Regions from separate parts of the Homo sapiens genome. Here regions 1, 2, 3 and 4 are each linked to region 5. The links are contacts of gene promoters, found by promoter capture Hi-C in blood cells and fetal thymus (Javierre and others, 2016). All regions are on one chromosome and are shown on one strand. Each heading gives the region's core, a stretch centred on a gene start or on the middle of the fragment in contact. The rest is flanking DNA. Distances are from core to core; before and after follow the strand shown.

Region 1 (4,054 bases), core at 1,242-3,741, 1.8 Mb before region 5:
ATTTCTATGTAATAACCGATATTAATTTGTCATCATAGTCCACAAATATTACATAGACAAATTAGAGTTATTACACATTATTACATAAATTATCAAATGATTAGATATTAATAATTAGCATTACATAAAATACAATATAGTAATTAATTGTGGAAACTTCAGTAGTATAAAAACAGACTTGCTAAAATGTAGTGGCTTTTTGTCATTCACCCTTTGAAGGAATGCAATTTATTTACAGTAGTAATTTCACAAACATATTGCTGAAAACTTGTGTAGCTCTCAGGAAAAAAATTAACTTTATCAATGAAGCAGCCTCATTGTGTGGGCTGACACCAAGGTTTGCTGTCTCACAGGGAGATCAAGGATGCAGACACACAAAGAGTGAGGTTAAGAGCCGAAATGTAATAGGCGACAAGAAAGGGAATAAGCTCTCCGCTACAGAAAGGGGTCCCCGGGTTGCCAATTCGCTGTGAAATATTTTTTATAGAATTTTATAGATGAGCTAATGGGGAGGCAGTCTGATCTACATAGGGCGTGAAAAACCAGTTAGGACCAGGTGTGCCATCTGCATAGGGCATGAATCTCTGGCAGCCCCCACCCCAATCTTTTACTACGCAGGTGGGTTCTCTGACTGAGCTTTTCCATATCGCCCATCTCTTTCTTACTGTACACGTGCTAACAAAAAAGGGGAGATGGAGATTCCATGGTGGACATGCCTGGCCCCCAGGTAGCCCTTTTCTATCAGCGCAGCTGCTGGCATCCACCCGCACGCTGCCCCCCAACCCCCTGCGCCCTGGTGTGCACGCTTCCAGCTTCCTGATCTATCTTTGCAAGGTTTGCAGGCTTTCAGGCTGCTCTTTGTTAGAAAAAAAAATGATTTCTTGAGCTGTTTTTTGTTAGAAGTTCTGCTGAAGACTCTTTTGCCCTATCTGCCTAAATAATTTCTATCTCCTGAATCATCAATATCAATCAGCAATGCAGACCATAAATTCTCAAAATTATAATTTATTAAAATTGTCTACAATGCCACAAGAAAGTCAAATCTTCTAGAGCCCATTTTTTTCTTTCTTTCTTTCTTTTTTTTTTTTTTTTTTTTGAGACAGAGTGTCGCTCTGTGGCCCAGGCTGGAGTGCAGTTGCACTATGTCGACTCACTGCAGCCTCTGCCTCCTGGGTTCAAGTGATTCTCCTGCCTCAGCCTCCCGAGTAGCTGGGATTACGAATGTACTCCACCATACCTGGCTAATTTTGGTATTTTTAGTAGAGACAAGGTTTCACCATGTTGGTCAGGCTGGTCTCGGACTCCTGACCTCAGGTGATCCACCCGCCTCGGCCTCCCAAAGTGCTGGGATTACAGGTGTGAGCCATCATGCCGGACCTAGAGCCCATTTCTTTTCTTTTTTTTTTTTTTGTTTGTTTTTTTTTGTTTTTTTGAGACGGAGTCTGGCTCTGTTGCCCAGGCTGGAGCACAGTGGCGCCATCTCGGCTCACTGCAACCTCCGCCTCCTGGGTTCAAGCGATTCTCCTGCCTCAGCCTCCTGAGTAGCTGAGATTACAGGCGCGTGCACTAGAGCCCATTTCTATAAGAAACAAATTAGAGGAAGTAAGCACTGAAACTATCATAAGAAGTTTCATTTCAATGAAAGCAAGCCATCATGTATTACTTATTATATATTATATGTTATTATATAGCAAATTATGATATCCTGGTGATTGTGATTTTGAATTTTAATTTTCTATGTGTGATGGTTTACTACAAAATAAATAATATATACTCGTTTAAAACTTTAAAGAGCACCATTTTCTGATGGGCAGGAGGATTAGCTGGGGGCACGCACCCAGTCCTTGGTTAAAGGAGGTCAGGTTTCCCGTGAACGCAACATCAATCCTGCACGTGATACACCAGGTGCGTAAAAATTAACATGCTTAGACAAAGGAAGCCCACCGTCGCTTCCCACAGCTTTCATGAGCATATTTTAATACATGTTTAGGTTAATTCATTATTGAAAAATAGGAGTCTTCTTTTCATTGCAGCAAACAAAAGTCCTTTCACAATATTGGTCATGGGCCGTTCAAATCCCCAAATGCTGAAACTCCTCTGAGGGATGCGCTGAAATGAGAGGACTAAGAATTAAAAAAAAAAAACAACAGCGATGAAGTGGAGATGTGGAAAGGCAAAGGGAAAGCTCTCAGGCGTGTGTCCGTCCCCGGGCGGTCCCTTTCTCCGCACCGCTTTGGTCCGGCGGGTACCGCAGCGAGTCCGAGTGTGAGCAAGCCCGTCCCGGACAGCCGCGCGCGTGTGCGGGGAGGCGCCCAGGTGGGCTGTCCCAGGCCAGGTTCCCAGGGAAGCTCTCGGGGAAGCGTCCGGAGTGAGGAGGGACCCACCGGGACCCCACCAGGGACCCCAGCCGAGCGCGCGCCGCCGAGGGTGGGGGTGGGGCCGGCGCCCCGGCCACCCGGTTACCTGGCGACAGGATGCCCTGCGCGGGGCGGCGGAGCGGGTGCGTGCGGCGGCGGTTGCGAGAGAGATGAGCCGCGGCGATGAGCCCGGGTAAGAGTTGGACGGGGCGGGGCTCCTAGGGGAGCCGCGGGAACGGAGGGCAGCAGAAGGGCATTCAGCAGGCGGCTCCCCGCTCGAAAACCCGGGACATCCCGGGTCCGCCCTTCTGCACTCGCCGCACATCTCCCGCTCGGCCCTAGGGCTGAGCACCCGCTGCGGCCCCCTGCGTCCGCTGTGGCTTACAGGCTGGCTACGTGGTCTGCCGCCGCCGCCCGCCCAGCGCGCCCTCGGGTGGCCGCTTGCGGAAAGCGCCGCGCCCCGCCCCAGGCCCGGCCTGATGCCGTCCCTCCGCCCCATCCCTCCGCCCCGCCCCAGCCTTCAGCCTTGACCCCGCCCCATTCCTCTGCCCCCACAGGTCCCGCCCAGTCTCTCCGCCCCATCCCATCCCTGCGCCCCGCCCCAGCCTTCAAACCCGCCCCCTCCTAATTCCCTCCGCCCCGCCCTCCCCGCCCTCCCCGCCCCCCCGCCCCAGCCTTCAGCCCCGCCCCCTCCTAATTCCCTCCGCCCCGCCCCAGCCGTTAGCCCTGCCCCGCCCCATCCCTCTGCCCCGCCCCCACCTTCAGCCCCGCCACGCCACGACCCGCGACAGAACAGCCCCGGACGGTTCTGTTACAGAAAAGCAGCACCGGGAAGAGGATGAAGTTGACTCCGTTCTCCTTTCAGCGTCCAAGATCCTAAATTCTTCGGAGGGGGTGAAGGAAAGTGGCTGCAGTGACACAGGTAAAATCGCCAGACCGTAAAAGGCTCCTTTAACTATACACAGGCGGCAGCATCTGGCCTGTGCCACCTGCTCACCTGGCGTGCTTCCCACGGCCGTGATGACACGGACAGCAGCCACCACGGCACTCGCGCTTTGTGCCAGTGCTGTTCTAAGCACGTAATGGATCAACTGTTTAATTCTCACAACACTTTTACGAGGTGGGTGCTACCACGATCCCCATTTTGCAGATAAGGAAACGGGCACAGAGAGGTTAACTCCCTAAGGTCACACAGGCAGCGAGGAATGGAGCGGGCATTCAGCAGGGCGGCTCCGGACTGCCTGTCTTCACCACCACGCTACGCTCCGTTGCTTCTCTGAATGCTAAGTAAGAATTGTTGAGTTTTTTGGACACACACTAAAACGATATGCAGTCAGCCCTCGGTATCTGGGAGTTCCGCATCCTTGGATTCAACCAACCACAGATGGAAAATATTCAGGGGGGAAAATTTTTAAAAATAACAGTACCACAATTTTTAAATGCAAATTTTGAACAGTATAACAGCCATTTACATAGCATTTACATTGTATAAGGTATTACAAGTAATCGAGAGATGATTTAAAGTATACAGCAGGATACACATAGAAGCTATGCAAATACTACCCCATTTTGTATTAGGGACTTGGGCATCTGCAGATTTTGCTATCCGCAGAGGCTCTGGAACCAATCCCCTGTGGATATCCAGGGAGGGGTGTATACCTTTTCTAAAGAAAACTACTTTTTATAGTAAATATTTA
Region 2 (4,374 bases), core at 405-2,904, 1.5 Mb before region 5:
GGAGGAGGGGCATTTGGGAGGTAATTGGGTCATGAGGGTAGGGCCCTCATGAATGGGATTAGTGAGCTTATAAAAGGGACTACAGAGAGCTCTGTCGCTCTTTCTGCCATGTAAGGATACAAGAAGTCCGTAGTTTATAACCCAGAAGAGGGCCCTCATCAGAACCTGACCACAGTGTCACCTTGATCTTGGACCTCCAGACTACAGAACTGAGAAATAAGTTTCTGTTGCTTATAAGCCATCAGTCTACAGTACCTTGTTATAGTAGCTTAAACTAAGACAACTGATTTTCTTTCTTTTTTTTTTTTTTGAGACAGAGTCTTGCCCTGTCGCTTAGGATGGATGTGGTGGCATGCCATCTCAGCTCACTGCAACCTCTGCCTCTCGGGTTCAAGTGATTCTGATGCCTCAGCCTCCTGAGTAGTTGGGATTACAGGTGTGCGCCACCACACCCAGCTAATTTTTTGTATTTTTATTAGAGATGGGGTTTCGCTCGGTTGGCCAGGCTGGTCTCAAACTCCTGGCCTGAAGTGATACGCCCACCTCTGCCTCCCAAAGTGCTGGGGTGACAGGTGTGAGCCACTGCACCTGGCCTTGATTTTCAATGAATACTCTCTACTTAACATAAAATTCTAGGTGTCACAGTTATCTAAAGGGATGAAAACAGAGCACTTCCTAATCATAGAAAATTCTCCAGATTGTGATTTAAAACTTTTAGCAGAATCTTAGAATTTCTAAAGACTGCAGGAAAGTGCCTAAGACAAGGCAGGATTATGAAAGCCATTATCACTTTCTAGCCTACAGTAATGCTGGATAAGATAGATAGAATATGACCTGCCTAAGTTTGAAAACCGGAACTTTAAGCATTGTACGTTCTCATATAATACATTCTCAATATAATATCTGGCATTTAGAAGCTTGGCTGCTGACTGATACATGAATCATGCTAGAAAATATGCATTTTTGATCTTTTAAAAATGCATTTTACAGTTAATAAGAGTTCAATAAAATAGAAAGCGTGCATTAAGTGGTCTTTATTGATGTTTCACATTCAGTTATTATCAATTCTTCAGTTAATTGTACAAGTATGATAAATTATTTTCTATTTGCTGTGGGAATTTAAATGTAAAATAAATACAAAATACATGTGTGGTTTAATGAACACTCAATGAAGCATCTCTTCTGAGGTATTCCTTTCAGTCTGGTTTTATCCCAGATCTTTTTACTTCCCCTAGGAATAGTCTATTAAACCACACAATGGATCTGTGAACTTGTAGATCAAGTTCACTGTAAATCTGTGAACTTGTGTTTTAATTACATTAGACATATTTTTTGATCTCATCATACAACACCAATACAAAAGCACCGCCCATGCCTCTCAGCACATTGGACCAGGCACCTTTGAAGAAGGCCTTGGCTCCTTCGTCTTTTGCAATCTTCCTCCAGCAGTCAACTGTCCCCGTGTACATAATATCGGCTGTGGAAACAAATGCTGGTGAGGGCTCCGTAACGCTGGAGGAAAGAGACTTTTCCCCTGAAACATATCTGTACACACTGTTACCAGTTTTATAAAATCAGGGTCATCTGGGCATGGAGTCCCAGCTCCATGCAACATCCCACTGGACATCTCCTTCCTTGCTTCACTGGCAGGCTGGGTCTCCTGTCATTCCTACTCCATTAGTTCAAGGTCAGTGAAGAACTGGGGCAATTAACCAAGTAATTCATGGACTGCCCAACTGCGAAACAAGAAGGGCGCAGTGGAGCAGGAGTATTATGCTACGCGGTTACCTTTTTTTATGGAGGACCGAACTGAGGCCGAGCCTCAGATGATCCTGCACGAGGTTATGCAGTCTAAATAAAAGGCTGTAACTATTCGTTGAAACATACGAAACTGCTAACATTGGACTGTTTTTGACTTTTAAAGTGGCAATTTCGTATGGTTCAACCTATAGAAGCCAAAACTTTCTCTGGCACAACAGATTGCTTCAGGCCATCTCTACCCAGCTAAACACCCCATCCCACTAACACCTGTAACTAGGAGGGAAGCAAGAGTTCTTTGTAAGAAGTAGCTAACTACTTCTTTTCCCTAGCTTTTGCACCCAGGCTCTAAGGGAAGAGGGCCTAGGGTCTCTATAATGCTGGATACCTAGTTAAATTCACATCTAAATGTCTTACTATTCATGTTCTTATCATCTCTAATAAAATGGAAAATACTTTTCCCTAATAGGATAGTTGAGAACGTTAGGGGGAATTAATACCATCTTTCTTCCCTAAGTCCTTATCAAATAATTTTGAAAATTAATTTCCAGTAAGGAAGACTGAAAGGAGCCCTGTAAAATGTTCTCCTCGGGCAAAACCAAACAAGTTTAGATGAGTAGAGCACAAGCTTACCCCCTTTCCGGCCGGACTGCATCATCATTCTACGACGAACAGTGTCAAAGGGGTAGGACACCAGCCCTGCGACTGCCGTCACACTCTGGGCAATCATCCAGCTCACAAAAATGTGCACGTTCTTGGGGTCAGGCAGCATCCCTGTGGACAGAGCCCAGAAGCCGAACGGCTATGAAGTGCCTGTTCTCAGCAGAAAGCAGGTGGAGGGAGAGAGGCCACTGCACCTCCAGCTCCATGCTCTGACCTTGCGGGGAACCTGCCCCTGTGCAGGTGCTTCACATATGACCAGGCAGACAGCAAAGGTGGCTGCTGCCCTCTCCGGACCCCGGAGGGGCAGTGCTCAGCTTGTATACAGGGCATTGGAAGTGGCTTCAAGTTAAACTCAGTAACTGCTATGGCTGTGTCTAGAGGGAGACAGGCTCCCCCCTCCTCCTCTCTGAATAACTAAAGGCCAGAGTTTATTTCAGTAGAGGACACAAGGAACGCTTCAGCTATTAACTTATGCACATCACCTCCTCATTCAGAAGCCTCAATTATCCCAGAGACTAGAAAAAACAAGATCAATATATATCAGGTCCTTTGTGAGTTATAGATCCCATAGGATCCTCTTTCCACACCACCCTCCTTCTCCCCGATGCCCCTCTCTCACCCTTGGCAGTATCATAGACTCCGAAGTAGGCAGCTCTATAGATAATGATGCCTTGGACAGAGACGTTGAAACCCTGGTAGAGCCCCCTCAGGCCATCAGACTTGAAGATCTTGATGATACAGTCGCCCAGACCATGGAACTCACGCTGGGCGGCGCCCTTGCCCACATCAGCAGCCAACCTGGTCCTAGCAAAGTCCAGCGGGTAGACAAAGCAAAGGGAGGTGGCCCCAGCGGCCCCACCGGACGCCAGGTTACCAGCAAAGTAGCGCCAGAACTGCTTATGCCGATCCACACCCCCTAAGAAGAGCTGCTTGTACTTGTCCTTGAAGGCGAAGTTGAGAGCTTGGGTGGGGAAGTAACGGATCACGTTGGCCAGGTTACCCCTCCAGAAGGAGAGGAAGCCCTGCTCCTTAGGGATTCTCACCACACAATCAATGATCCCTTTGTACTGCTTCTCAGCACTGATCTGTTTGCTGGCATGCTGGACCTGGTGGAGGGGAGGGTGGGTGACAGAGGACAGGCAGGGTAGAGAGAAGGGAAGAGGACAGGAGAAAAAAAAAGGTTTGCACTTCCTAGATTTTTTTTTTGAAGAAAAAAAGGATGAGGAAATCAAATGGATACTGAGGACGTGTAAATGGATACTGTTATCCATGTTAGTTACTGGATAACAAGCCAAAATAATCCAATGTTGCTTCAATTATTAGGGTATTTGAGGGAAAAGGTATTGCCCCAAATAAACTGAAAAGGTGATTGAATTATATAAAGCTATAGCCATTTATTTATTTCACTTTCCCTAGGTTTGAGAACTGTATGAGGGGCTTACTGGGGGACAGAAATGAGTAACACTCCCTGCTTCAAAGGGCTTTGGATTTAATAGACATGATGGCCAAAAAATGACAATTTCTCAGTGTCACTCTGATCACCCTGGAGATGAGGATCTCTACTAGATGCTCTAATAGAGGAAGGAGAATAAATCCACTAAACATTAGGCCTCCAAAGTTTTCAAGCAGATAATCCAAGTAATCAATTATTAAGGGTTTGCTGCCGTTGTGAGCAATTTGTGGGGGTTTTGTTGTTAGTAATTCTGACTCCCAAATTGGGCTCTTCCTCATTGAGGGGCCCTGACCTTTTGGGCAGGTGGAGGAAAACACGAGAGGATGATAAACCATTCAGCGACCAGGTAGGGGAGGAAAAGATTTGGAGACAGGATGATCTGAGTTTATTCCGAAAATTGTTTCTTAATATTTCAAAACCTCAGCTTCATCTGTAAAATGGAGAAGAATAACTCTCTCACAGAGGTTACATAAAGATGAAGGCGTCAGCCTACATACAGC
Region 3 (4,462 bases), core at 942-3,441, 1.5 Mb before region 5:
AAAATATGCCATATGCAAAATGTTCAAAAATGAAGGAGTATTTTAATAACCTTTTCAGTTACTTGTGGATTTTTTTATACCACAAGTCGTATTTTCTTTTCTGTTGTTGTTGTTTTTTGAGACAGAGTCTCACTCTGTTGCCCAGGCTGCAGTGCAGTGGCGCGAGCTTGGCTCACTGCAACCTCTGCCTCCCGGGTTCAAGCAATTCTCCCACCTCAGCCTCCTGAGTAGCTGGGATTACAGGCGCCCTCCACCACGCCTGGCTAATTTTTGTATTTTTAGTAGAGACGGGGTTTCACCATGTTGGTCAGGCTGGTCTGGAACTCCTGACCTCAGGTGATCCACCTGCTTCGGCCTCTCAAAGTGCTGGGATTACAGGTGTGTACCACCTCGCCTGGCCCACAAGTAATAGTTTCTTAGATGTTAGTTGCAATGTGAAATCTGAAATTAATCTCAGTTAACTTTTAATCGTGAATTTCAAGTCTGTTATGTTAAAACATATTGATCTTTCTTGATTGATTTTTAATGTATATTTTACCTATGCCTGGTTTTGGAATGTGACATATTGGGTATTTGGAAAATATTGTTTCACTGAGCTTACAAATGTTGGCAGGCCAGGTACAGTGGCTACGCCTGTCATCCCAGCACTTTGGGAGGCAGACGTAGGCAGATCACTTGAGCCCAGGAGTTTGAGACCAGCCTGGGCAACATGGTGAAACCCTGTCTCTACAAAAAATACAAAAATTAGCTAGGCATGGTGGTGTGTGCTACTGTAGTCCCAGCTGCGGGGGGAGGTTGAGATAGGAGGATCTCTTGAGCCAGGGAGTTGGAGGTTGCAGTGAACTGAGATCACGCCACTCCATTCCAACCTAGGAGACAGAGTAAGACCCTGTCTCAAAAAAAAAAAAAAAAAAAAAGGTTGGCAAATTTCAGAATACATTATATAGAAATCATAGTTGTTAATATCACTACCAGCCTCATCAGAAAGCTCTTGAGAAGCTGTCAAACTCATGGTGGCAGATACAAGTTTACCTAAAATACTATTTTTTGCTAAAAAGCTCAAATTTTATTATTGGTAATAAATACTGTCAACTGTTTTCCTTGAAGTGACAGAATTGTTCTTTAAAATTATATTTGTAATGCAAAAATTGGATGGTGGTTGAAATTAAATCATAAAATATCATGAGATAATGCAGATTGCTCACTAATATTGTGTAATAACATATATCTTGATATATTTGCCTTTTTTCTTGTGCATCAAATTTCTATTGCTGCATTGCTCTTCGTTCATAATTCTTACTGTGATTTGTATGTGTTGAACCCATTTCCTGTTCAGAAAAAAAAAAGTACAGCTCACTGCCAGCACTCATTTCTTGGGGCAAATGGGAAACGTGTTAAAAAGTTGCAGCCTATTGTTTGGCATTAAAAAGTATTGTTCTTATAAAATTAGGTTAAAAATGGGTTGAAAAGAGAAATGTTCTAGAAGATAAATTAAAATGTTCAATATGTCTAGTGGGCTTTATTTTTTAAATATGGGCTTGTTTGACTAAATCATAATTTTTATTTTTAAGGGGACACTTCCGTTTTTTAAAATCTTGTAAGTACTATTTGTTCCCACAAATTATAAACCCCACTGTATCCTAGGAAAGAGGATTAAAAAACGAGCATACAAAAGGAAGGTATTGTTTCAGCCAATAAAAAGCTTCTTACAGGAAGAAAACACTCAACTCTTAGAATTGTCAAGTTTTTAAAAACCATCTAATAGAAAATAGTCTGATTTCTGGGCTTTTTGTTCAGAGTCATCAGTGATTATCCAGGATTTTGAATACAAGAAGGGAATTCCGAATGAAACAATATTTCTCATATAACAGGTCACCCAAAGACACGCTAGACTTCAGGGTTGATTGAGTGGCTCAAAACTTCATCAGGGACCTACTTTCTAGCACTGTGTTCCTCCAGCCCTGGTGTTGGCTTCGTTCTTAGGCTGCTAGGAGATGTCTGCAGCCGTTTTCAGTGTTCACCTTCAGACACAACAGTGTCCAGAGGAAGAGACAGTGTCTCTTCTCTGACTCTTGGAATGGAGGAAACTTCTTAAAGAAATTTGGCCCAGTCAACATCCACATAGGTCTCCTTGCCCAGAACTGGTTACGCTCCCATTCCCGAACCAGTCGTTGGTAGGGGAAATGGGATTATCCTGGGCCAAGCAGGCTCACCCTGGAAGTCAGGGATCTGTGAAGTAGGAGGAAAATAGATATACAGTAATTGGGCAGCCAACTTTGTCCAAGAGAGCTTCTCAAACTTCAGTATGCATACGGTTAACCCAGGGATACTGTTAAAATGCAGATTTGGGTTCAGTAAAACTAAGGTAAGAGCTAAATCGGCATTTCTAATCAGCCCCTACTGGTGATACCCGTGCTGCAGATCTAGGGACCATGGTCTGAATATCAAGACACTGAGTAAACTATTTGGTTCCATTGAAAATAAAGCATTCTTCACTCTTCCTGTCTAACCCATTTCTGAAACTTAATTAGATATAGAGAACCTAAATATTTTTAACTTTTAAATAAGAAAAATAATCCTACCCCAAACTCCTGAACAGTTCCCCAATTATAATTAAATTGAAATACTGTTAAAAAGCATTTAACACAGATGCTGAGCTAAAATGTAGAAGGGAAGCTTTATTCATAGTACTGCATAGTAAAGAACCCCTGATAGAAGAGATTTGCCAGTAGGTGGCGCTCAGGGCTTTTTAAGGCGCAGGAACAAACATGGCATTTTGCCAGTTGGTACATCTGTTATTGGAGTCCATAATATAACAATCCACCAAGGATTCTTCATAATAATAAAGCATTTTAAACACTAATTAGGACTGTCAGTCTATTATATAAGGTATTGCAATCATTTTTCAAAATTATCATTCATGCTCGATTTACACAGTGAAGCATTTCAGATCCAAAATTATTTTCCTATGTTTTCTTTATTTTCCACCATATAACTGCAACTGTGGTCATGGTAGGTGGATATGAATGCAGAGCCAGGCTTGTGCCTTTTCTGCATTCATCTCTCAATACACTTTATCACTTCTAACTTACACTAAATAAGCTTTTCTAGGCTGCTTTGGCTTACCTAATTTCTTCACTGCCTTTTCTACTTCCTGGAACATAAATCCACTTAGTATGGGGAGGATGATGGTGAAGACAACATGTGAGCCCATCAGAGCACAGCTGAGGCAGGAATGCAGCATACTCTCTGCATCCTTTCAGTTTAAACATTTTCACGGACTTCAGTACAGAGGTTCGGTAAACCAGTTTACTGCTTAAGGTAGTGAATACTAAGTAAAAAATTTTGCAAGTTAACAGCCATATTAGGTGAGAGTTCAGATAATGAGGGATACCTGTATAGCCAACCACATCAACATTTTATTGGTTTAAAAGAACCTTTTTTTTTTTTTGAGACGGAGTCTTGCTCTGTCACCCAGGCTAGAATGCAGTGGCGCAATCTCAGCTTACTGCAGCCTCCACCTCCCGGGTTCAAGTGACTCTCCTGCCTCAGCCTCCCGAGTAGCTGGGATTACAGGCGGGCACCACCACGCCCAGCTAATTTTTGTATTTTTAGTAGAGACGGGGTTTCACCATGTTGGCCAGGCTGGTCGTGAACTCCTGACCTCAGATGATCCGCCCGTGTCAGCCTCCCAAAGTGCTGGGATTACAGGCATGAGCCACCACGCCCAGCCCGTTTGTTGTTTATGAAATAGAAATTTGAACTATAAAATATTAAGCCTATGAAACAAAGATTGATAAAAGAATGTAAAATTGAATCTACCAGTATAGGGCATGGAATGACGAGACAGTGTTGAACCAAGGTAAAGACAGTTTTGAAAGTGGAATAAAACTTAGGCTTCTGGGTGTTACCGACATGATCACAAACAAGACAGCAACTGTTCTGAGCTTCAGGCACTCTATTTGTAGGAGGAGATTGTTGATATAGGTTGCTAGGGTCCATTCTAACTTCAGAGTTCTTCGGGTTCTGTGAGAAATAGTGGAAGAAGGGAAGACCATTGCATAGTGGCAGTATTAGATACAGGACTTTGAAGTGGATCTTGAAAGATTAGTCGAATTTCTGAATATTCAACCTCTTTTAGCTCAAGGGTGGCTGACTTGGGGAATTTTCCACCTCCATGCAAAGCTGCCTTTGCTATGTAAATGTCAAAAAATGGTTGGAATTAGATCCTTCATCTTGACCTGTAAATCCCTGAATAGGCAGAGAGGGCATTAAAAAAATGGAGTAGTAAACAGAAGTTTAGACATCAAGTTATGGTATGAATCTCACCGATTTGGAGAGCATTGAAGACGTTGACCACACTAGATTTAAAGGTATGTTTCATATTTTGTATAGGTAAAATTAGGTCACTTTAAAAAGAATCTGAAACAGCAAAAATTTAAAATATTTTAGAAATACATGG
Region 4 (4,099 bases), core at 1,560-4,059, 1.5 Mb before region 5:
GTATCATCAGAGTTCTCAGCCTCCATAATCATGTAAGCCAATTCCTCTAATAAATTCCTGCTCATATATCTATCTATATCCTTTTGGTTCTGTCTTTCTGAACCAAGATTAGTACATCTTCCATTCTTTTTTTTTTTTTTTTTTTTTTGAGACAAGAGTTTCGCTCTTGTTACCCAGGCTGGAGTGCAATGGCGCAATCTCGGCTCACTGCAACCTCCGCCTCCCCGGTTCAAGAGATTCTCCTACCTCAGCCTCCCGAGTAGCTGGGATTACAGGCATGCATCAGCATGCCTGGCTAATTTTTTGTATTTTTAGTGAGATGGGGTTCATCGGGCTGGTCTCAACCCCCCGACCTCAGGATCTGTCCACCTTGGCCTCCCAAAGTGCTGGGATTACAGGAGTGAGCCACCATGCCCGGCATACATCTTCCATTCTGTCTGTCCTGCAGACCATCTTAATGTTGTTATGTGGACCAGAGGCGCACAAGTCATGGGCTGAATAATATTCCATTTTATGTATCTACTACATTCTGCTTCATCTGTCTGTTGATAAACAAACACTTGAGTTTTTTCCGCCTTTTGGCTATTCTGCTATGAACATGGGTGCATAAGTATCTGTTTGAGACCCTGCTTTCACTTCCTTTTAGTGTATGTCCAGAAGGGAAATTGCTGGGTCATATAATTCTATGTTCAAGTTTTTCAGAACATGCCATACTATTTTCCACAGTGGCTGAGTATGCTACATTCTCACAAGCAATGCATAAGGGTTTCGATCTTTCCACATTCTTGCCAATCCTTATTTTCTATTTTTTTGACTAAAGCCATCGGTATCTCATTGTGTTTTTGACTTGCATTTCCCTAATTAGTGGTGTTGAGTATCTTTTCATGTGTTTATTGGCCATTGGTATATTTTCTTTGGAGAAATATCTACTCAAGTCCTTTGTAAGATAAACTTTTGACCACAGTTTGTTTATTTATTTAGAGACAGGGGCTTGCTCTGTCGCCCAGGCTGGAGTACAATGGCGTGATCTCAGCTTACTGCAACATTTCCCTCCTGGGTTCAAGCGATTCTTCTGCGTCAGCCTCCTGAGTAGCTGGGATTACAGATGTGCACCACCACACCTGGCTAATTTTTGTATTTTTAGTAGAGACGGAGTTTCACCATGTTGGCCAGGCTGGTCTGGAACTCCTGACCTCAGGTGATCCGCCCACCTCAGCCTCTCAAAGTGCGGAATTACAAACGTGAGCCACCGCGCCGGGCCAACCACAGTTTAACAACTATCCCTGGAAAGTGGTGCCAACACAGTTTTATTAAGCACTTTAAAAGAAAGTGAAATTCTTGCTTTTTTTTTTTTTGAGACACAGTCTTACTCTGTTGCCTAGGTTGGAGTGCAGTGGCACGATCTCGGCTCGCTGCAACCTCCACCTCCGGAGTTCAAGCGATTCTCCTGTCTCAGCCTTCCGAGTAGCTGGGACTACAGGCTCACGTCACCACGCCCAGCTAATTTTTGTATTTTTAGTAGAGACAGTGTTTCACCATATTAGTCAGGCTGGTCTTGAACTCCTCTCAGGGGGCCCCACCCGCCTCGGCCTCCCGAAGTGCTGGGATTACAGGGGTGAGCCACTGCGCCCAGCCAATGCTGTCTTTTAGGCAACAAAAAGAGAATTGATTATACTTTTGGTAATTAAGACCAACAAGTACAAAATGCATTGTGAAGGACGAAAATAGACAATCCTTACTGGAACTCCCCGGGACAGGCAGGGTAAGACCCATATTTCCTACCCTTCTTTGCACTTAGATGTGAACAATATTTATTAACTACTGGATTGTATACCATTGCTGCTATAACAAATTACTACAAATTCAGTAGTTAAAACAACACAGGTGTATTGTCTTACAGTGCTTAAGGTATTAAGTCTAAAATCAAAATTTGCAGGCTCTAGTTCCTTCCTGAGGTTTCAGGAGAGAATCCGTTTCCTCCTTTTGCAGCTTCTACCTGCACTCCTTGGCTCATTGCCTCTGACATCACTCCAACCTCTAGCTTCTGTGCTCACAGCTCCCACTACTGACTTTGAACTTCTTGTCTCCATCTTATAAGGACCTTTGTGATTCCATGGGGTTCACTGGATAATCCTGGTTAATCTTCCCATTTTGATCCTTAATCACATCAGCTAAATCCTGTCTGCCACATAAGGTGACATATTCACGTGTTGTGGGGACTAGGAGGTGCACATTTTTGGGGTGCCATCATCCTACCATACCTGAGAGTTCAACGAGAAGTTATTGTATTCAATATATTCTGCAGAGATCATTTTTACCTTAGATTGTTTTAACTACCCACCTCGTTTACCACTCGGCAAAGGTCTTTCCATTCTGAAACCAGCCTCTGGTCCACAGAACTAACTAGTGGTATGAACTGAAATTTGCTGATAGAAAATATCACAAACACACAGCCGCCGTTCTTTTTTATTCTTGGTTTGGTAGAGAATTACAAGATAATCAAGGCAGCTTTCCCTATTAACGCACGAGAACAACGGGGCCTACCCGCGCCGCCCTAGGCAGCCGGGAGCAGCAGTAACGCCTCTAGGGCGCCATGGCAACCACGCGGGCTGGACCGCCTTCTTCCGCGGCTCTTCTAGTGTGCGCGTCCCTGGCCCGGCCTCCACTCCGCCCGCGTGGAGCCCCGGCCTGGCCGCCTGCCCGCCGCGCTCTGTGACGCCCGCCGCGAGGGCCGCACGAGGCCCGGCGTGCGCCCCCGCCTCTCCCGAAGCGCCGGGCCCCACGCCGCCCCTCCTTTCCCTTTCCGCTCTCTCCGCCTCCGGAAGCGCGGGCGCGCGGCGCCGGGAGCCCGTTCAGGGCCGCGGGAGTGCGCCAGCGCCGCGCGTGGGGCTGTGGTGGCCGCGGCTCTCAGGTGAGGGGCGCGCGAGCGGCTCCTGGCTCCCTGCTCGCGGGGCGCCCGCCACGCTCCTTTCCGTTCGCATCCGTCTCCCCGCTCCGGAGCCCAGGCGGCGGCGAGTACTCGGGGTGGGTTTAACGAAGCCTGCGCGGACGGTGGGAGACCGCGCCCCCACGACAGGGGCGCCCGCGGCGGCGGGTCGCGGCGCCGTTCCACCCCGGTCCCCTGTGAGAATGGCGGGTCCCGCCCTCTCGCGCGTTCCGGGTGGCTTTGAGGGTCAGGATCAGCCCTAAATTGAGATTGGGCCGCGACCACATGCCGGGCCCTGACGACTTCTTCCTACTTGTAGGGACTCGAACCTAACCCACGAGGCCCGAGGGGTTATCTGCCTTCCGGGGACGGTAGGGGATGTAGACAAGAGCCTAGCGTTCCTGGAAACAGGTGTTTAATTTGGGCCGGGATTTTCATGTACCCAATTGGGCATCTTGTTGGAGGCCTACTGTGCTGTTTAACTACAGAAATGTATTGTCACAGTAACAAGATGACAGTTTAAAAAGTGCCCGGTGCTTTTCTGTGTATTTTCCTGATGTTTGGTGAAAGCATTAGTCTTGTTATTGCTGGTCTGTAGGACCTGGCAAGTGGGGCGTGCCCAGTGACTCTCAGGCAGCTTTGATAAAAACTTACCTGTCTCTTTTTTTTATTTTTATTTTTTGAGACAGGGTCTCGCTCTGTGGCCCAGGGTGGAGTGCAGTGGCACGATCATGTCTCACTGCAGCCTCCCAACTCCTGGGCTCAAGCGATCCTCCTGTCTTGGCCTCCCAAAGTCCGGGGATTACAGGCGTGAGCCATGCCCCTCCTGGCAAAACTCTGTCTTGATTGAGCACCAAAGGGTTGTTATGGTCTGATGAACTATCCTTTAATTTTATCCTTTCCTAGTCTGTTGTAAAGAGAATCTTAACTACTTTATTAAGTCATTTTTCTTATTCTCTGGTAAATTGAATCACTTACCTCGTAGTAAATGTTATCAAAAGAATTGCTCAGTGGATGGGATTGTTGGGTAAATTTTCCTGTAAATTAAGTCACATGAGTGTCGAAATCTTTACAGTAACTCTGTTGGATATTATTAACTAAAATTTAAACCTGAAAAGTCTCACAGGCACCGGACTATGCACCAGGGCGCATGAACTGTGACCACTTAGGGAG
Region 5 (4,507 bases), core at 472-2,971:
CCCGTCTCTACTAAAAATACAAAAATTAGCCGGGCATGGTGATGCGTGCCTATAGTCCCAGCTACTCGGGAGGCTGAGGCAGGAGAATGGCTTGAACCCGGGAGGCGGAGATTTCAGTGAGCCGAGATCGCACCACTGCACTCCAGCCTGGGCAACAGAGCAAGACTCCGTCTCAACAACAACAACAAAAAACAAGTGACCAAAATACAATACGGGCCCCTTTGCTTAATATGAACGAGTCTAGACTAGAGGCCATTTCCTGTAATAACTCCAGAGGCCCAAAAGACATAGCTGTGGTCTTTAAATATGGAGTTGAAATAAGAGGAACTAAAAATGACTGTCATCCAATAGAAATACAAGTCACATAAATAAATTAAAAATTTCTAGCAGTCATATTAAAAAGTAAAACGTGGATGGAATTCATTTTAATATTCAATTTAACGCAGTACAGTATGTCCAAAATATTATCATACTGACAATAATATAAAAGTTATTAATGACATATTTTACCTTTTTTTGTACTGAGTCTTCAAAATCTGGTGTGTATTTCACACTCACAGCACATCTCAATTCAGACTAGCCTATTTCAAATGCCTGATGTAGCTACTGGCTACAGAACTGGACAGCAGAGATCTAAATTATGGGAAATGTGTCCCAAAATTGCTGCACGAAAATTGTATCAGAAAGTCTTGCCACATTCTCCTATGTCACCTGAAATGGTCGTGCTTATTCTGCAGCAAAGGAATTTGAATGAGAACCCCGATAACGCACAGGCGCAGATCGAATGGATTTCAATGACAGGCTGGAAGGAGAAATTTTCAGATATCCAATGGAGCAACCAACGAAACTATACACGAAAGGAGGCGCAGCTATAGAAGGTGAATAATGGATGGGAGATCAAGTAATGCAAGGGAAGTAAACTGGAAACTAGCGTGAAAGATAAGAAAGGTGACCCAATCAAATTGGCAACTAAAAAAACCCCAAAACCTAATGTGGTTACTTTTTTTTTCTTTTAACTAACTGGAAGTTCAGGGTGTTAGGACACAAGGCTGCTAAGAATGGGATTCAGAGATGTTCAACTACAAAACGAACAAAAGAGGAACGACAGTGTGGGGACGAAATGATGTTTCGATGTTAAAGATGAGAAGCAACAATCCAACGTAGGAGAAACACCGTCCCCATGGTCCCAGTATCTGTTCTGGTAGCTCCAGTGAGGAAAGGTAGAGAAATAACCTTGCAGTCCCTAAAGGCAGATATCTTCCTCCTCTTATTCCCCCGTCTTAAACCTGGGAGGCCCTAGAAACGGGTGCGTCTTTCCTCGGGTCTAAAAGAGAAGTGCCAGGATTGCACCCGTCGATGGGATTGCAAAACGCAGGCCCCCAAACCAGCATTGTTAAGAGCTAGCTCTCTTCCTCGGCGGTCCCGCCTGGCCCCGCGGGTCTCCGGGCCCGGACTCACCCAGGCCCCACGCCCCGGGCCCGCTGCAGCTGAGGCCGGTCGCCGCCAGCCGGGAGAAGACGAGGGGAGGCGGGGGGATGTCACAGAACGCCGTGGCCCGTCCCCACCGCCGCAGCCCCACAGCCAGTTCCAACAGGCGAGACTTCCCTGTACCCACCTCCCCCGGCACAGGAAGCACTTTCTGGGCCTGAGTGACCGCGCTCTACACCAATCGCTGTCCCGGAACTTTACGCCGCTCCTCCAAGCGTCAGGGAGACGCTGCACTTCCCAGGCCCCACCAGCCGCGGCTCCGGCTCGTAGCCCACAGCCCACTGCCGGCGGCTGGGCGCTGCCGAGGCTCGGGGCGCGCGCAGTTGGCGTCTGCCAGTGCCAAGACTGTGCCGCCCCCACAGCCGAGGCGCGAAAGGGGGACGCCCGGCCTCTGGGCCGCTGCCTTCGCTTTCTCTTCGTTGTTGCGAACGCCGTCCGCTCAGGAGGCGCCCCGCGACCGGCGCGATGAGTGCCAACGAGGACCAGGAGGTGAGCCCCCCGGCTCAGGGCCCTCTCCCAGCGCGGGCGCGGCGCGCAGCCCCGGGCCCCCGTGAGACCTGGTGCCCGGACAGCCTGCCCGGCACGTGCCCTGTGCCCTCGGAGCCGGCCGGGGTGCCCCGAGTTCACCGGCGTCCCACCCAAGCGCGCGTGAATGGCCAGGAGTCCGCCTCTGCCACTCTTCCCCCCTCATTTTTCATTTTTGCAAATCCGGGAGTCTCCCCTGGTTACTTAATAACAGGGATGAGCGTCCTTGGTGCACGATCCAGTGCTCTTGGCTCTCCTTGAATCCCATGTGTTCAGTGCCTGTTTACTGAGTTAGGCTGATCACCTTTAAATTTTAGTCTGGTCATCTTTAAATCTCTTGGCTAGTAGAGGGCTAATTGAGTTAGTTACATTTCTCATGGAAGAAAATGACACTGGTGGTGCATCTGAGTTTCTGTCCATATTGTTTGGGGAAATCTTTTACCCATCTGTCTGTTTTGAGCATTCATGTACCACCTGAATTTATGGTTTATGCTCAAATATTTCCTTGTGAGATGCCATTTTGACATTGAATCATATAATATTAGAGTTGGGGGGTGGGTGCTACGGGCCATCTGTAGGGGAACCTTCTAACTTTGATAGGTGGGTCGATGATAGCCGCAGGGCTGCACAGTAAGTACGTGGTAGAATCGGGACTAGAAACCAGGTCTTATTGGGTGGTAGATAAGTTCACTGTTAATTTAAAGTATAATGCTTGAAACTTACTACTTTTACATGATAAATGTAATAGAATCTCTGGATTGGAAGTTAACCTTTAAAGGACCCAAAGTCCAACAAGCTAGCTAGTTGATATCTGAATCTCTTCTAAAATATTCTTGCCGGGTGAATTTCTAAGTGAATGCGTTAATAGCTTCTTCTCCCTGCAAAGCAAAGAACATACAGTGTAATGTTTCTCAGAGTTGGACCATAGTCCCCTACCTTAGAACCATTTAGATGGTTGCTAGAAAACAGATGCGTGCACTCCACCCCAGACCTACTGAATCAGAATTTCTGTGGTGGGCCCAGGAATCTCCAGTTTAACAAGAAAATTTCATTCTTCTTTCAGATGACCGATGTTCTGATCTTTGAAGATAGTTTCCTGCCCAGTTTCTCAGACCTTCTCTGAGGAAGTGGTTCCTTTTAGCTTGTCTTCATATATCCATTCTTTGTTAATCTCTTCACTATCCTGGAATCACGTGTTTGTGGACAGATTTTAATTTTTTAAATGTCCTGTTTCAAAATTGTGGCATCTTGCTGTTTTGTCTAGTTAAATTTACTGTCAACTGAAATCTTTTAAGTGCTTTATACAAAGCAATTTGTCTTTCATCTTCAACTTCTACATTTAGGTATCTGAGTATTGATACAAGTTCTACTTACCCTGCTAAATTTCATCATTAGCTTGCTTTTCAAAGACTTTTTGGATTCTTATTCAGCCATCAGCATTATTCACTGTCCCAACAAATTGTCATCCACAAATTTAATAAACTTGCCTCCTATTTTTGTACCTGTCCAAGTCATAAATTAAAATATGGGAAAGGATTAGGGACAGAAGGAGTAGTACTATATCTTGAGTAAGGTTTTTGTTCCAATCTAATCTTAGTTATTCTTGAATCCGGCTTGAATTTCTGTATTTTGTTTTTTTTTGTTTTTTCTGTAAAGGTAGCAAGAGAAACCTGTGGAGCCTGGCTGAAATCTATATAGTCGGTGTTTTATGCCTTTCTTCATTGTGCCAATCAAGTTTCCCTATCTAAGAAGGGTATATCTTGTTTTTCATATACTTACTAGGTCTTAGGGTCTACTCCTTAATGTCCCAGTTCCTCACACACTGTTTCTTCAACAATGTCTTTTTGCTGTTGTTGTTGCTATTTTTGAGACGGAGCCTCGCTCTGTAGCCCAGGCTGGATTGCAGTGGCCCGATCTCGGCTCACTGCAACCTCCGCCTCCTGGGTTCAAGCGATTCTCTTGCCTCAGCCTCCTGAGTAGCTGGGACTACAGGCGCCCATCACCACACCTGGCTAATTTTTGTGTCTTTAGTAGAGATGGGGTTTCACCGTGTTGGCCAGGCTGACCTCGAACTCCTGACCTCAGGTGATCCGCCCGCCTCGGCCTCCCAAAGTGCTGGGATTACAGATGTGAGCCACCGCGCCCAGCCAATAATTTCTATTCTAAAATTTTGACTGTAGATCAAGCCCACTTTCACCATCTTTAGTTTGTAGAATTCATGACATGCATCTTTTTGAAAAACTTAAACGTGTACCCAAGTGCAGTCTTGCTTTACTTCTTTTCTCAGGTATTCATCGGTGATCACAGTGATGAACTTCTCAGTTGTAATACCAAAATGTTCTAAGAACTATGTCCAAGCAAGGATTACTAGTTACATTTTCTCTGACAGTCCTGTCTCATCTTGGGTAGATACTTGTCAGCCTTTTTCTTAAGTTCTTTTTCTTGCCCTTAGGTGTTTTTTAGAGCTTTGTATCACTGTGGGAAGGATTACATA

The links. The method cuts DNA at HindIII sites, captures the fragments that hold promoters and counts their contacts. A CHiCAGO score of 5 or more calls a contact.
Region 1: a contact is called between the fragment with the promoter of CCDC110 here and the fragment with the promoter of RWDD4 in region 5, in 6 of 17 cell types (total CD4 T cells, naive B cells, activated CD4 T cells and 3 more). The highest score is 10.7, in total CD4 T cells.
Region 2: a contact is called between a fragment that was not itself captured here and the fragment with the promoter of RWDD4 in region 5, in 1 of 17 cell types (total CD8 T cells). The highest score is 5.4, in total CD8 T cells.
Region 3: a contact is called between a fragment that was not itself captured here and the fragment with the promoter of RWDD4 in region 5, in 1 of 17 cell types (non-activated CD4 T cells). The highest score is 5.2, in non-activated CD4 T cells.
Region 4: a contact is called between the fragment with the promoter of CFAP97 here and the fragment with the promoter of RWDD4 in region 5, in 7 of 17 cell types (naive CD8 T cells, total CD4 T cells, naive B cells and 4 more). The highest score is 10.6, in naive CD8 T cells.

What each region holds. Positions count from the first base shown.
Region 1 is chr4:185,470,170-185,474,223 of GRCh38, reverse strand. It overlaps CCDC110 (coiled-coil domain containing 110), which reads left to right and starts at 2,491. Exons shown (of 7, transcript NM_152775.4): 1 at 2,491-2,550; 2 at 3,175-3,279. The coding sequence starts at 2,541. LOC105377590 (a long non-coding RNA gene) reads right to left here and starts at 2,793. Exons shown (of 2, transcript NR_133944.1): 1 at 2,464-2,793; 2 at 1,961-2,109. RefSeq lists a silencer at 2,277-2,906. The HindIII fragment of the contact is 5,122 bases long and covers 1-4,054 here.
Region 2 is chr4:185,143,917-185,148,290 of GRCh38, reverse strand. SLC25A4 (solute carrier family 25 member 4) reads right to left here. Exons shown (of 4, transcript NM_001151.4): 2 at 3,041-3,527; 3 at 2,392-2,532; 4 at 1-1,477. The coding sequence ends at 1,320. Among named protein-coding and RNA genes, the nearest start is that of SLC25A4, 2.8 kb to the right of the region's middle. The HindIII fragment of the contact is 1,469 bases long and covers 920-2,388 here.
Region 3 is chr4:185,182,089-185,186,550 of GRCh38, reverse strand. The region is part of intron 2 of CFAP97 (cilia and flagella associated protein 97); the gene reads left to right. Among named protein-coding and RNA genes, the nearest start is that of CFAP97, 20 kb to the left of the region's middle. The HindIII fragment of the contact is 974 bases long and covers 1,705-2,678 here.
Region 4 is chr4:185,202,710-185,206,808 of GRCh38, reverse strand. It overlaps CFAP97 (cilia and flagella associated protein 97), which reads left to right and starts at 2,809. Exons shown (of 5, transcript NM_020827.3): 1 at 2,809-2,911. It also overlaps a transcript of SNX25 not described here. RefSeq lists enhancers at 1,657-1,746, 1,857-1,966 and silencers at 2,726-2,897, 2,507-3,276. The HindIII fragment of the contact is 9,685 bases long and covers 1-4,099 here.
Region 5 is chr4:183,656,399-183,660,905 of GRCh38, reverse strand. It overlaps RWDD4 (RWD domain containing 4), which reads left to right and starts at 1,721. Exons shown (of 8, transcript NM_152682.4): 1 at 1,721-1,977. The coding sequence starts at 1,954. It overlaps TRAPPC11 (trafficking protein particle complex subunit 11), which reads right to left and starts at 1,613. Exons shown (of 30, transcript NM_021942.6): 1 at 1,459-1,613. RefSeq lists silencers at 1,302-1,591, 1,962-2,171, 1,986-2,206 and enhancers at 938-1,725, 1,682-1,811, 1,726-2,514. The HindIII fragment of the contact is 5,102 bases long and covers 1-4,507 here.